Linked DNA regions of Homo sapiens: region 1 is linked to region 2. Evidence: promoter capture Hi-C in human tissues and cell types (Jung and others, 2019). All regions are on one chromosome and are shown on one strand. Each heading gives the region's core, a stretch centred on a gene start or on the middle of the fragment in contact. The rest is flanking DNA. Distances are from core to core; before and after follow the strand shown. Region 1 has its middle 290 kb from the start of LINC02214. Region 2 holds the start of SEMA6A (semaphorin 6A).

What was found. Contacts are between HindIII fragments. The study calls those that stand out against the background at their distance.
Region 1: a fragment that was not itself captured here is called in contact with the fragment with the promoter of SEMA6A in region 2 in 1 of the 25 tissues and cell types used here (heart right ventricle).

What each region holds. Positions count from the first base shown.
Region 1 is chr5:117,052,838-117,060,009 of GRCh38, reverse strand. No RefSeq gene overlaps it. Among named protein-coding and RNA genes, the nearest start is that of LINC02214, 290 kb to the right of the region's middle. The HindIII fragment of the contact is 9,804 bases long and covers 1-7,172 here.
Region 2 is chr5:116,572,578-116,580,206 of GRCh38, reverse strand. It overlaps SEMA6A (semaphorin 6A), which reads left to right and starts at 5,384. Exons shown (of 19, transcript NM_020796.5): 1 at 5,384-6,022. SEMA6A-AS2 (SEMA6A antisense RNA 2) reads right to left here and starts at 5,789. Exons shown (of 3, transcript NR_147170.1): 1 at 5,668-5,789. RefSeq lists enhancers at 1,419-2,052, 2,053-2,688, 7,326-7,629 and a silencer at 5,549-5,628. The HindIII fragment of the contact is 11,240 bases long and covers 1-7,629 here.

The sequences.
Region 1 (7,172 bases), core at 1,869-4,368, 480 kb before region 2:
GAACTTACCTATATCAGAGCAGATAATGAAGAAGTACAGATACTTATAAGTAGAGTATAAGTATTAGATTAATCTGGGCATGGTGTTTGAGATGGATTCAGTTAGGATGAAAGTGGATAGGAGAAGTAAGTTAGTAGATGATTATAATTATCTAGGTAAGAGATAATGCAATTCCAAACGCGGGTGAGGCCATGATGAAGATAGCTTTGAATAGATATGAGACAATTTGGAAATAAAAGTGGACGAGCAAGAATGTTTGCAAGTAAGAAAAAATCAGGCAATAAAGAGAGAAAGAATAAATTATTCTGGAAAATAAACGTGTTCTTGACCATTTCTCACTGGAATTCACTGTCAGGAGCCGCAGTTTATATGGATTCTTGGAAGAGAGTGCTGTAGATCATAGCAAACTGTTGTATTTAGCAGCAGCCTGCTTGACAACACCTCCTCCGACCTCTTTCCTTCCTCACTCTTTGTCCCTTACTCCAGTCTATAGGGTTGTACCCTCTAGTGAAGGAGTTTTACAGAAGCCTTTGCCTCGGGCTCTGCTTCCAGGGGAACCCCAAACCAAAATACTCTCCTAAAGGAAGGTTGGACTAAATAAAACAAAATTACTTTCCACATTTAAAATTCTGTGGTTCTAATAAACAAAACAACGTGCTTTCTAAAAGCAACTGCCCCACAGAAGTGGCATGACAATTTCCCCTCTCAAGAATATCATTAACAGTCAAATCCTATTACTACAGGCCAACAAAGGTCCTTCCAAGTTCCTTTGCTTCACTGCTATCCTGTTGAGTTTACTGCTTTTTGATTTCCCTATGTTGCTGGTCTTGGGCTTGAAAATGGCTTTCCTATCCTGGAATATTTGTTTTCATGATTTCAATGTGTTGGAATATATCATGTGTAAGAATTCTGGCACATTCTAAAGAGAAGCCTCAAAAAACATATTCTAGTTTCCAAATAGATTGGCTAATAAGAGTAATATAAATGAAAATGAAAGAAGGCAACAGGAAACAATATTGAAATTTCTAACTTAACCAAGCATAGGAGACCAGAACAGTAATGGAAACAGTCAGGGCTCTCAGTGCAGATAAGCATTTCACAGTCTGATCTACAGGCCCTACCAGTGCCATCAGTTCCAGGCATTTCAGTAAAGTATGAATCACCTCTCCTGTGGAAGTAACTGCAGTGAACCTAGAACTTAACCATTGCATAAAAAAAGCACAAAGACCCCAACTAAGGCAAGCAGTCATGAATGGCACATGTAATTCCTTGTAGGTGAGACTAGGTATATGGGAAGTAACTCCAGGATTTTACTCAGAAATAAAATATTGTAAACTGAACCACTGAGAAAAAAAATGGAAGGGTAAGCATGAACTTCATTCCTCAAAGGTATCAAATATGTAGGATATTTATTTCTTTAACTTCAGAGATGGCTCATCAAATCTGAAAATGAAGTTATTTGTTAAAATAAATTGATTTGAAATAGTTTTCACCTTTTTGAATAGTGTGGGGATTTTCCAGAATGCCTATGAAATATAAGGCATGTACTAGGTTCACATATCCAGAATTAAATAATAATGTTCTTGTCTCTACCATTTCATAAACAACTTTCCAGACACTGGAGACAAGCCCAGAGTATTCAAGAGGCTTTACACACTCAACACCCACATCTACAGTCACTTTTTGCCATGGGGGATCCTTGGTGGAGCTGGCAAGGACATTATTAGGCAGTGCAAGCATTCTCATGGATAAATAGCAACGACTATTAAGCACCCTTGCCTTTTTCCTCTGTAGGAATTTGTCTCCCCTTAACCCAAAGACCTTCTTTTCTTATCCTTTTTTGATTAAGGATCTGGTAAATTCATCTATAGTGGCATAAATTTATGATTAGATATTCTAATGTTGTAGCCCTCTAATACTAATGTATTGCACAAAGGGTAAATTATTACATCTCCCAGAAATGTAGTCATGCTTAATGGTGCCAATACATTCTGAGAAACATGTGCTTAGGTGAGTTCTTCATCCTGTGAACATCATAGAGTGTACTCACATAAACCTAGATGGTATGGGCTACTACACACCTAGGATATATGGTACAGCCTATTGCTCCTCAGCTACAAATCTGTACTGCATGTTACTACACTGAATCCTGTGGGCAATTGTAACACAAAAGGTAAATATTGTGCATTTAAATATTGAAAAGGTACAGTAAAAATACAGTATAAAAATAAAAAATGGTATACCTATATAGGGCACTTATGATGAATGTAGCTTGCAGGACTAGAAGTTGCTCTGGGTAAATTGGTGAGTGAGTAGTGAGTGAATGTGCTGGTCTAGGACATTACTGTACACTATTATAGTATTATAGTACTAGTATTACTGTACCTATTATAAACACTGTACACTTATGCTACACTAAATTTATTTTTTTTAAATTTTCTTCAATAATAAAGTTGCCTTAGCTTATTGTAACTACTTTCTAAACTTTGATTTTTTTAACATTTGACTCTTTTGTAATAACACTTAGCTTAAAATACACCTTGTACAGCTATAAATATTTTCTTCCTTTATATCCATAGTCTATAATTATTTTTCTGTGTTTTAATTTATTTTATTTGTAATTTTTAATCTTTCTTGTTAAAAACTAAGACACAAGCATACAAATTAGCCTAGGTCTACACAGGGTCAAGGTCAGAATATCATTCTTCCTCCAGAATTTGTCCCACTGGAAGATTTTCAGGGGCAATAACATGACATGACGCTGTCATCTCCTATGATAACAGAGCCTTCTTCTGGAATGCCTCCTGAAGGACCTGCCTGAGGCTGTTAACTTTTAAAAATATATAAATAGAAGGAGATAGTCTAAGATAGCAATTAAGTATAGCATAGTAAATACATAAATCAGCAACATAGTCATTTATTATCATTATCAAATATTATATACTGTACCCAATTGCCTGTCCTATACTTTTATAGGACTGACAGTTCAATACATTTATTTACACCAGCATCATCACAAACACTGGAGTAATGCATTGTGCTTCAATGTAGTGATGGCTACAACATTAGGCAATAAGAATTTTTCAGCTCCGTTATAATCTTATGGGACCACTATCCCATATGTAGTCTGTCTTTGACCAAAATGTTGTTAATCAATGCATGAGTGTATTTGCATGGTTTTTTCTATTCAGTGGGGAAAAAAAATGCCAACTACAAAATTACAGGCCTGCTAGTAGTGAAAAGATTGATTTGGAAGATAAAAAAGGGGCCAGTTGCCATATTCCTCACAAATAACACCAAGGATTTACTCTCCTATCCTGTTTTCACACGCATCACAACTCACTGGATTGCCTTTTCAGAATGACAAAGACCTAGCTGATTGTTTTTGCAAAAGGACCGCAAAATATTCATATTAGGGGAGTGTGCATTTTCACTCCACCCTAAGATGTCTTTATAGAATGAAGAAGGGAAATAAAGTGATTAATCCGCTACCATGCAATTTTCCTTCTTCTTAATAGAACCTCCCCACAAGAGATTCTTCCTTCCCCCCTCTACTTCCCTCTTGGGCTAAGAAGCATCAGAAAGCCACGTTTCAGACAACCAAGCTAATGGGGGGTCAGAATCTGAACAAGGGTCCTGAGATGGGCAGAGGGCACAAGTAGAACATAAAGAGAGGATAGGGCTTGATATCAAGCCAGCAGTTTGTTGAGCCAGAGGCTCCCTATGGATTCCTTCAGTCGTGGAGCATTCAGCACTAATGAAGACCTTATACACCAGGAAGTGGAGGCACAAAATGAAAAGATAAAATGTTTTTCAGTTGTTCAAAGCCTAGTGAAATCATTCCTCAGCCCAACGGCAGAACTGGAGGGGAGAATGGCTGGGCCCCATAACAGGTGCAGACAAATGCTGACTAGCAGTGAAAGAGCAGAGAGGAGAATAGCCCCTGAAAGCTTCTTCTTTTTACTGAACCTTGCTTTTAAGTGAAATGGTCTGGATATTCCCAACAATTCTGTTACTCGATTTTACTTACAATTTCAATTGTGTATTAGGAAATTCTTGTGGGGGTATTTGAGGCTGAGAATAATACTCTTTCTATTATACTTCAGAATTGTCATCTCATCACTGCCTTTTTAAAGTCAAATTTGTTTTACTTTTTAAAGAAAATATATTTTCCTCCTTTTATCCTGCTGCTTCCATCTCATTTTACAAAATGTTAACATTCCTTCATTATGTCACACATGGTCTCCAACAAATGTCATCAGAATTGCAAAGTTATTCAGTGTCTTGTGACTGTTTTGCAGTATTTACCCAAGTTTCCTTGCAGATCTATTCATGAATAAATTTTGCACGCTTTGTAACTGCATTCTCAGATATTGCCATTCATAGTTTTATGAGATACTAATTGTAAGACGTTGATGTTTTCCCTGTCACATATATGTCCTTATTAATTCTAGAGTATTTTAAGCAGAAAACAGCTAAATGGGAATAAAAAACAGCACGTAAACTAAGTAGTTGCCAGCAGTGAATGGCACACTTAATTACTGCTGGCTACGGTCCTTTAAACTAAAGAGATAACCTTTGATAATTAAACATACACACACACATATTAATTCTTTCCAACATATATCATTTCTAAAATACAAGGAAGTCAACATTCTTCCCAGTTCTATCAAATTTATGATCCTTTTATTTCCGGTTTAAGTCTGGTAGACCATTCAGGTTTTATGTTTAAGCTCAGTGCTAATGCCTCTCTCATCCGCACTCTTGACTCAAGGAAATGACCAGGAGCAATTGCTAAGTAAGTACAGGGTCCATCAGCGAGTCTAACTGGCTTGCTTCCCAGATGCTCCTGCCATCTGTTGGAAATGTAGCCCAATAGAAACAGAAGGTAGACTTAAAAATACACTTTTCCCCGTGTCTTTTAAAAAGTGTGTTTATCACGCTTTAATAATTAGCCATGTAAACAGGCTTTAAATCATGGCCTCAGATACTAAAGTAAACACTGGTCCTCCACTTGGCCATGGTAGGGGAGCTTTGCATCATGATATATTTAAACAAATCTTCAGTCTCCTTGTCTCCTTGTTCCATAAAATATGACATTGGCTATTAAAACAATAAGTCATACAGAGCAAAATGCAAGATGGGGGAATAGTTTTGCAGAAGAAAGAGGTCAACTAAGGGAGAAAGAATGAGACAAAAGGCACTTTGTGAGCCAAAAAGGAACTATTTTCTCTCACCACATGATATGTAGCTCTTGGTAGAAGTCACTGTTGAAATTTAGATAAATTTACATAAAGTAGTATTCAATATCATGCTCATACACTTAATAAATTAATGGAGATTTTTAGCACTCATTGTATTTTCTGAACCAAAGGAGATGCAAAGCACATTGGACTTCACTCCTGCCCAAAATACCATATAAATCAACAGAGCCCTAGAACAGTCATCCTCAGACTGTGCATCAGAATTAGCACACATTTCTGGCTACAGGATTTCTGATTCAGTAAGTCTGAGGGGGCCCAAGAATGTATTTTCTAATGATTTGCCAAGCCAGAGTGATGCTGCTGTTGTAGACTATAAAGCAATAAAGGTAAGAAAGTAGGAATTCCAGAAAAGCAGAGACAGGAAGAGAAAGCCTTTGAGATGCAGACAGGAAGAGAAAGCCTTCAAGGACACTGAATTTTACAGCTGAATGGGACGTTAGCATTAGGAATCTCTAACTATAACCCCCCTCAATTAACAAGTTATAAAACAGAAACCCTTGGGAGTTATTTGACTTTCTCAGAGTCACTTAGTGGCCTAGTCCAAAACAAGAGCAAGGTAAAAAGTTTGGCTGCTTTTGCTATGACTCTCAGAACCAAACACATATTGAGAAATTTGATCACTGGTATGCTGGTTGTACTCTGTGGATGTTTTCCCCTTTAGAAAACTTTAGGAAAATGCACAAAAAGGGAGGAAAAAGAGTCTAATTCCTGGAAGTGCACATCCATGTGGACAGGTGAATTATAAATGTACTACCCATCTCCCTCCACCTGTAAGAGGCCTGCTTCAGAGATAGAATTTTGGAGGGAGGTAGAGGAACATGGAATACCAAAGAGAGAGATGAATAGACATAAGAGAAGATGGCGTTCTTCAGGGGTACATCATGACCTTTCTTTGAGATTCCTGGGCAGTTTATGTGACTACTAGGTTGTCATCAAAGAAGTCAACCATGTCTAGAGAAGACCTCCATCATGTATCCGAGTCTCTAGAGCCAAGAAATAGAGAGCTTATTTAACACAGTTGACAGCAAGTTACAAGACTGTCAGAAAGCCATGGTCCAGAGATGACCTTGAAGGAGGAAAAGAAGGCCTTAAGACCTTAAGAAGCCTTAAAGGAGGGAAAGCAGACAAAAGGTTGAGAATCTGGCAAACTATGCCAATAAACTTTAATGCTGTTATTTGTGTTTTTATATTAATTAAATATTTTAATAAAATATTTGTACTGGGTGTGTTTACAGGATATAATTCATGAAGAAAATAAGACTGAATGTTTCAATGCACAGATTTCTCAAAGTGGGAAATCCATAAAAAGTGTAATGTTAGCCTCAAGGTAGGAACAATGTTTTGTTCATTATTAAATATCTGGCACCTGCACATAGTAGTTGGTCCATACTTTTGGATTAAATTAAAGTTCCTTTAGAAAACTTCAGCATACTTTATCCCTAAGGAAGAAAATAAGGAAGGCGCTGTGGTTGTTTTTGAAAAAAACAGTTGTAAAAAGGGAGAATTAAACACTGAGAACCAGATAAGGTACTTGCAGTAGGAAATGAATAAGAGAAATCTAGAAGGAAGGAAAGATCATGGGAGTGTAATCAAGTGGCACTTCTATAGCCACTCAATTGCCCTCCTATCACCACCTAAAGTTTTCTGCTCAAGGCTTAAGAGATTCCGAATGTACGTTTATTAGGATCACCATTCTCTTAGAATTGGCACTCTTAACTCAAGCAAAGTGAGATATGCGAAAGCAGCCCAGTGATGTCAGGCACTATTATGTTCAAAATCTAAACCTGGGGTATGGGGCAAGCAAATGCTAATCGACTGGCTTCCCCCATCAGTTTCTTTTAGTGCCTACCTTAAAGTGGTCTACCTTTGCATCCTTTGCATATGTAGGCCACAAAAGGGCAAAATCCT
Region 2 (7,629 bases), core at 4,135-6,634:
GATGGTCTTGATTTCCTGACCTCGTGATCCGTCTGCCTCGGCCTCCCAAAGTGCTGGGTTTACAGGCGTGAGCCACCACACCCGGCGACCAAGGCGGACTGTTTCTAAGATGGGAAAGACCGAAGCTTGCTTACATGCTGATGGGCAGATGCAGGAGAGGGTCTGGAGACAATAGGACAGAATTTCTGAGAACCTGTGAATTATTGGGAACATAAGGAGGGACTGGCCTCCTACTGGAGGAGGGACACTGCCTCCTTCATAAGAAGAGACACTTAGAAAATAATGAGTACAGGCCGGGCACAGTGGCTAACGCCTGTAAGCCCAGCATTTTGGGAGGTCAAGACGAGTGGATCACCTGCAGTCAGGAGTTCGAGACCAGCCTGGCCAAAGTGGTGAAACCCCGTCTCTACTAAAAATACAAAAATTAGCCGGGCATGGTGGCAGGTGCCTGCAATCCCAGCTACTTGGGAGGCTGAGGCAGGAGAATCGCTTGAACCAGGAGGCAGAGGTTGCAGTGAGCCAAGATTGTGCCATTGCACTCCAGCCTGGGCAACAAGAGTTAAACTCCATCTAGAAAGAAAAGAAAAGAGAAGAGAAGGAAAAGAAAAGAAAAGAAAAGAAAGAAAGGAAAAGAAAAAGAAAGGAAAGAAAAGAAAGTAAAGAGAGAAAGAAAGAAAGAAAGAAAGAAAAAATAATGAGTACAGAAGCAAAAATGTTCCCTTCTGATGGACTGCGTTTTTTTCAGGGAAGTACGAGGTATGAAGTGTGAGATATCTGATTACGGGGAGAAAGTTAGAAACGAACTGAGATAAGGCGGTGCTTTGGATGAGATTGAGGTTGATAACAATCTATCTACATTTTTTTTTCCAGCAGGCTTCAGCTGCCCAGTTCAGAAGCAGAGACGGCTGATGTTTACATACTTCAGAACTAGCTTTTAGTCAGATAGATGTTGACCAAAGATAGAGGAGCAACAGAATTGAAAGTATTTGCAAGAGAGAGGGACTGATACTATGAAGCTATGCTAGACATAGAGAGGAATGAAATAAGGAGGGAATAGGTGATCGAGAGAGAAGCAAAACTCAAAATCTGGAGGTCCTCAAGAAATCAGTGAATGCAGGGGGGTGCATGAGCAAGGAAGATTGAAGGAGAAGAAGTGATTGGAAAGCAGGATGTCAGAATTAGTGATTTGGAAGATGGGGCATTTTTGATAATAAGGCCCAGAATGAAGCCTGGAGTAGGTGGAGGAGGGGAGTAGAAAGACAGCATAGATGAGGAAGGCAAGAAATGGAAAAGCCAGAGGGTCAGTGGTTATATGGATGTTAACACTACCATGAGTCATGACAGGTGGAGGGACACATAGGAGGACAATAAGTCTTTGAAGAATCGGATAAAATGAGACCACAAATGTATTTGTAGAGTTTAGCTACCAAAGTCAGCCAGAGGTTTTTAGAGGAGGAGAAATGGCCTGAAAGCAGCATGAGGAGCAAGGATACGGACCTTTCTTTGTGAAGAGGAATAAACGGACAAGAAGAAGAAACAGCCCCCACAAGAAAAAGGCTAGGGAAAAGTAATTGGTCTAGAATACAGCCAGGATTTATTGTGGCAGTGGTTCTCATCCCTGGCTGCAAATGAGAATCATCTATGGAGTTTTAAAACCTACCCATGCCGAGGTCCCAGTCCTTACTGATGAATGAGAATCTTGAGCTTGGGGATTTGCATCACTGAAGAGCTCCCCTGGTCATCTAATGTGCAAGTGGATTTTAAAACCACTGACTTAAGGCAAAGAGGTGGAGGGAACTTTGGAGAAGGGGCTGAGGGTACAGATAGATTTCTTGATTATAAATTATAATGGCCTGAATGTACAAACTGTGCTCCCCAAGTGTGCCCCCATGAACCCTCAAGGAACTGTGAGTAGCAGCAGCCCCTTCTTCTCCCAAGTTCATTACTCCTTTTTGTCTCAAAGCAGAGATTCTGATCAAACAGCTAGATGTGGTCTTTGCAGAGAACCTGAGTTTATCTTTCTGCTTTATTTTAATCTTCCGCCACACTTTTCCAGGTGATCTGAGGAAAGCGGGAACTGTCATGTAGTTAACAAGGGCAGGGGGTGGCTGGGCGCGGTGGCTCACGCCTGTAATCCCAGCACTTTGGGAGGCTGAGGCGGGCGGATCACGAGGTCAGGACATCGAGACCATCCTGGCTAACACGGTGAAACCCCATCTCTACTAAAAATACAAAAAAATTAGCCAGGCGTGGTGGCAGGCACCTGTGGTCCCAGCTACTCGGGAGGCTGAGGAGAGAGAATGGCGTGAACCCGGGAAGCGGAGCTTGCAGTGAGCTGAGATTGCGCCACTGCACTCCAGCCTGGGCAACAGAGCAAGACTCCGTCTCAAAAATTGAAAAAAAAAAAAAGAAGAAGAAGGGGAGGGGGAGTTGTTACAGGTAGCTCCCAGCCCTGACCCAATCGCTGACACAGGTCAAGCCACTTCTGTCCGCTGTGCTTCCATGTGACTCCTGTAAAATGTGATGGTAGGACTGATGTGGAGGATGGCAAGGATGACAATGTGACACTTAATCTTTATAAAGCAGTGTCAGCCTTAGACTCCGAATTTACGAAGATCATCTAATGTAATCCACGAGCTCCTCGGGAAGTGAGTAGAATAAGAATCCCCATTTACAGGTGAATCCACTGGGACTTCACAGAGATAAGTGACTTGCCCAAGATCACCAGCTAAGTTACATTAACCGCAGATGGCCTCCAGAGACCAGGGCCTCAAACACTCCATTTTACGTCACTTTAAAAAAAACCACTGAAGTCACCTTCTCATCACTCTGTGATTCTTTAACTCTTTGGCTTTCTTTTCCTGAAGGGACAGGGTATAAATTGCAGACTTCAAAGGCTTTGAAGGGGCAGTGGTTTTACTGAAAACTTACTGCAGGCTTCTGGAAGTGAGTCTGAGGCGCACTTATGGGGAAATGACATCATGAGGTTTCATAGCCTGGCTTCCCCACAGGTGCTCCCCTGGGGGTTTCGGGAGCCTGACAATAGCTGGCTTTTCTTCCAGCTCCGGGAGCATCTTTTCTGGCAGGTGGAAATGTAATATCACGTGGTCAGAAGGAAGGGCTCCTACTTGGATGGTGAGACTAGGATCTAGTAATTGCCAGGAAGATTCTGGGTGGTATTTCTTCACTGTGAAAAGTAGACTCCAATTCTTTAACTCTCGTATTCTATAATTTTAAATTAGGTAAATTTAATCGCTCGCTTCTTGGCTCAGCGTTACTACAAATTAAACATGCAAGTATTAATATTGAATATAATGTCCCTTTAAACAATATCCTGAAACTCGTTGTGGGGCATTTCCAATATATCCATAAAGCAAATAAAACAACTTAATTGTTTGTTTCTCTAAGGGAAGGAGCTAAACCCGAAATTAATTTAGTTCGGCCTGTGAAACAATTCGTTTGCTCTGCCTAATTCTGCCAATTTAAGAACTTTTCCCAGACACAATTAGCATGTAAATCGGCGGCGGGGAGCGAAGAAGGAGCCTCGGCGACCCCGGTTGGGTGGAGCGCGGGACAAAAAACCCCGGAGGCCGAAGGGTCCGGAGCTTCGAAGGGGCTGCAGTACCGCGCCTGGGGCGCACGGACGAGCCAGGGGACCAGCTCACACTGACCCTGCAGTCATCAGCCAAAATCTGGGTGTTAAATAGCGCAGCCGGGGATCCAGCCGTCTTGGCCGCCAGATCCTTCTCCTAACCCCGCGGGATTCTGAGGAGACGTCCTGGAGCCGGCCCCCACCCAACCCGCGGGAAAGCGCAATCCTACCCACCGCCCCACACTCCCCAACCCCCTCCCGAGGCTGGCTCTTGAAGCCGCGGGGGCTGCGCGCGCACCTAGGGCCGCGCCCCCCACTACCCCAGGTCTATAGAGGCCTTTGCCCGAGAAAGGTGGGGATAGCGGCCCCTGCTGACAGCTCTGGAGAACAGCAGGGGTACTGATTTTTTCTTTTTTTCCTACCATTCTCCCTACCTTTTCCAGGTGGTGGTAGTGGTGCGGGGGGAATGGGTGTTGACCCATGTGCATTTATTCTTCGTGAAGCCTCTTAAGCAGATGTCTGTACTTAGAGAAGCGACCAAAGAGGGAACGTGGACTTATTAGTGGTCTTAGTCCCAATTAGGGAACAGGTACAGTTTCCAATATAAAGAAACTCGGCCTAAGTGGGACTGAGACCCCGATCTCCGCACTTGCTTTTCTCAGCCAACTCCATGACTAGTAAATATCTCTCCGAGAACTGCTGGGCCGCCCGATGTTACTTTGTTTAAAGGTTGCGACTAGGATCCGTACCATCTGCGAAGCCCCCTTGGGGAGCAAGAGCCGCGGCGCGCAGTTGATTTCGGGGCGCAGCGGCAGGGGGAGGGGAACGTGGTGTGGCCCGACGAGTTGGCACAAGCCTGTAACTGCAAGACTTTGTAGCTATTGAAAGTTCAAGTGGTGAAAGAAGGCTGTGCCTGCCATTCTTCATGTGATCATAACAATAGCGCCTTGGAAGTGGTTGCGATTTTCTTCTTCCATAAACCTTTTGGGTTCTCACTGGAATTGTATGCGTGTTATTTCTGAAGTTTACTTATTTCTAAGACCAGTCCACAAAATGTGAACTTCATTAAGTTTTAAAATAGATCGCCGTCGTTAAAAACGCCATTCTCTGCACTGTAGTTTATTTGCTTACTTCACATGCTTTATTAACGTGTGTATGTGCGTAATTAATAGCTGTGTTCTTATCTTCCAAGTGTATTTTTAACCGCACCGGCTTCTATCCAATTCATCTAACTACGTAGAGCGTCCATCGCTTCTGGAATCTACCTCTTGATAACAGTAATCAGAATCAGAAAAGCTCGCCGTTCACTTACCCTCATCCTTTAAAACTTTTCCATTTAAGAAAATCGATGAACAAAACCTTTCTTGTAACTCGCTCCTGCACTACGTCTATTTTTATTTATTTTTCTGATTTGGCAGGACTCAGCAATGCTGTCCGGGATTTTTTTTTTCTTTTTTTTTTTCCTAGCTAGAGCAGATGTGGGGGTGGGGGAGGTGAGGGCTGGGCTCCAGCCAGAGTCGCCCCCGCTGAGCCTCCGCCTAGCGCGCGGTGGGGCCAGGAATCCTGGTGGAAGGAAGCGGCGCTGGCCAGTTGGTCCAAGGCTCCACCTGCAGCCACACCGCGTAGTTTCTCCGCCTCTGCCTCGCTCACTCGCACTCACATACACCACAGCTCTCCTTTGGGTCGGAGGAGACGCCAGCCAAAGTAGGCGGAGTTGCGGAAGGAGAGTCCGATCTGCGCAATCCAGTCCGGGACTTGGCTCCGCCCGGGAGCGGCGGCCTCTCCGGTGACAGAGGAGTAGTGAGCGGCACGGGGTGAGGCTGCAGCCAACTCCGCTCCCCGCGCACTCGGCTGCCCAGGCGCTCGGAACCCAGCAGCGGCGCTCCTCCGCGGTGCCGGTCGCCCGCGATGCCCGCTTAGCAGCGTGTAGCAGCGGCCAGCATCACCACACCCGCGGCACCGCGCTGCCGGCCGCAGAGCCGGGCCAGAGCCTTGCACCCCTGCCCCAGCCCCCACCCCGCCCCCCGCCCTGAAATGACTTGTTAATCGGCGCAGACACCACCAAGGGGACTCACCGAAGTGGAATCCAAGTGGAATTTGGATTTGGAGAAGAGTTTCTTGAACATTTACCCTCTTCCTTGTTGGTTTTCTTTTTCTTTTTCTTCTTTTTTTTTTTGGCTTCTTTTTTCCTCTCCCCTTCTCCGCTCGTCATTGGAGATGAACACATCGCGTTTGCATCCCAGAAAGTAGTCGCCGCGACTATTTCCCCCAAAGAGACAAGCACACATGTAGGAATGACAAAGGCTTGCGAAGGAGAGAGCGCAGCCCGCGGCCCGGAGAGATCCCCTCGATAATGGATTACTAAATGGGATACACGCTGTACCAGTTCGCTCCGAGCCCCGGCCGCCTGTCCGTCGATGCACCGAAAAGGTACGCCCCGGGCGCCCGGGCGCGCCCCACCTCCCGGGCAGCTGGACTCCAGCCTGAGGGTCCCGGGGCCGTGGCTAGCGCGTGCTGTCGGCTTTGTGGTGCCTGCGTTTTATTTTGTCTTGTGTCTCTGTTTCCCGAGCCTTGCCCGGTCCTGGGGGAGCAGCCGTGAGCCCTGCCTGCCTTTCCTCTCTGCCCTGCGCCCCAGAGTGCGTCCGGCTCCACGTCGAGAGCTTTCCCACCCGCGTTGCGCACACGCCCGGCGCCGCCCCGGGCCGCGACGGCGCGTATGGCTGTTCCTCCTGGGGGTGTGTGTGCGAGACCCAAGGCTCATCCTCCCGCGTGCCCAGCAGGGAGCAGAGCGGGCCCTAAATGGTGGGATTCTCGGAAGCTCCCTGGCCCGGTGTGTCGAAGGCAGGGGAAGGGGTTCTGCCCTCGAGGGCTGGAGGGGGTTGGGTATAACAGCGCTGTTTTCGTCCAGTGCCAGGTGGGAGAAGGGGTTCCGCGGAGACGGTGTGGAAGCGGAGAGAATCTTTTGTTGTCAGTGTGGGGTCTGGGCTGGGCTCCGTGGAGTGCAAGAAACTTGTAATGGCTCTAGGCACCCGCGCGCCCTGTCTCTCGGTGAGATCCTGGCTCCTGTGGCCGCTGCCACCAGAGGTTCCGGGCTTTGTTTGCTCGAATAAGTGTCCGGGAGCAGCCGTTCGGGTGACGCGGCGCCCCCGCCATGGGTCCTGTCCCCCGCCGCAGCTCCCAACCCGAGCGGCAAGGATATAGCCCGTCGCGGCTGCGTCCCTCCTGAAGCACCGAGCCCTTTGCACCGGGCTGGCGCACGGTACGCCCTCCTCCCAGATCAGCGCGGTCTCGCTCTGGAAAGATGACCCAGGAGGGGGAAGGGTGAGAGACCTGGCAGAAGATGGCCCTGGGTTTGAAACCCAGACTAGGGCTCTGTTCCGACTCCTCACTGTGTCCTAGGGCGCTACCATGGGGGCAATGGGGCGCTGGAGAGTAAGCCGGGCAGTGCCCACCCACCCTGCCTGATCCTTCTGGGGCGGGAAGTGTCTCTTGTCCCGATTCTCCGCGTTTTGCTCAGCTCCTCGCTGTGGGAGATGGTGCAAAACAGGATCCTGAGGTCTCCTCCCTCCTCGCAAGACCCGAGCGGCACGGGGGGAGCCAGGGAGCGGTCCCGGGCTTGTGGACGTCGGGAAAGGAAACAGAATTCCGCTGTTTTTCCCGCTCCCTCGCCGCCCCTCCGCCCAGCGCCTCCTCCCACTTTACAGCGGCGGGGTCACTAGACCAGGCGCTCCTGGAAAGTTTCCCTGAAAGCCAGGGGCGGCAGGCACGACCGGACTGGGGCTCAGCATGTGCAGTCTGAGGGAAGCCGGACCTGGAGGGAATCATGCGGACAGCTCGGGATGCAGCTAGGAGCTAGATCCCGGCCCTTTGGAGAGTGGAACCTCCTGGCCCGCGGTACTTGCTCGACAAGTCGGGGAAGGGATGAATGGGGAAGCAGGACCCCGGAGGCAGGTGCGGCCACTGTGGACAGAGGCTGTGGGGAAGGTGCGTGTGGACACAGGCCGGGGCTCAGTGGCTTGCAAGTAGGCAGCTTCAGG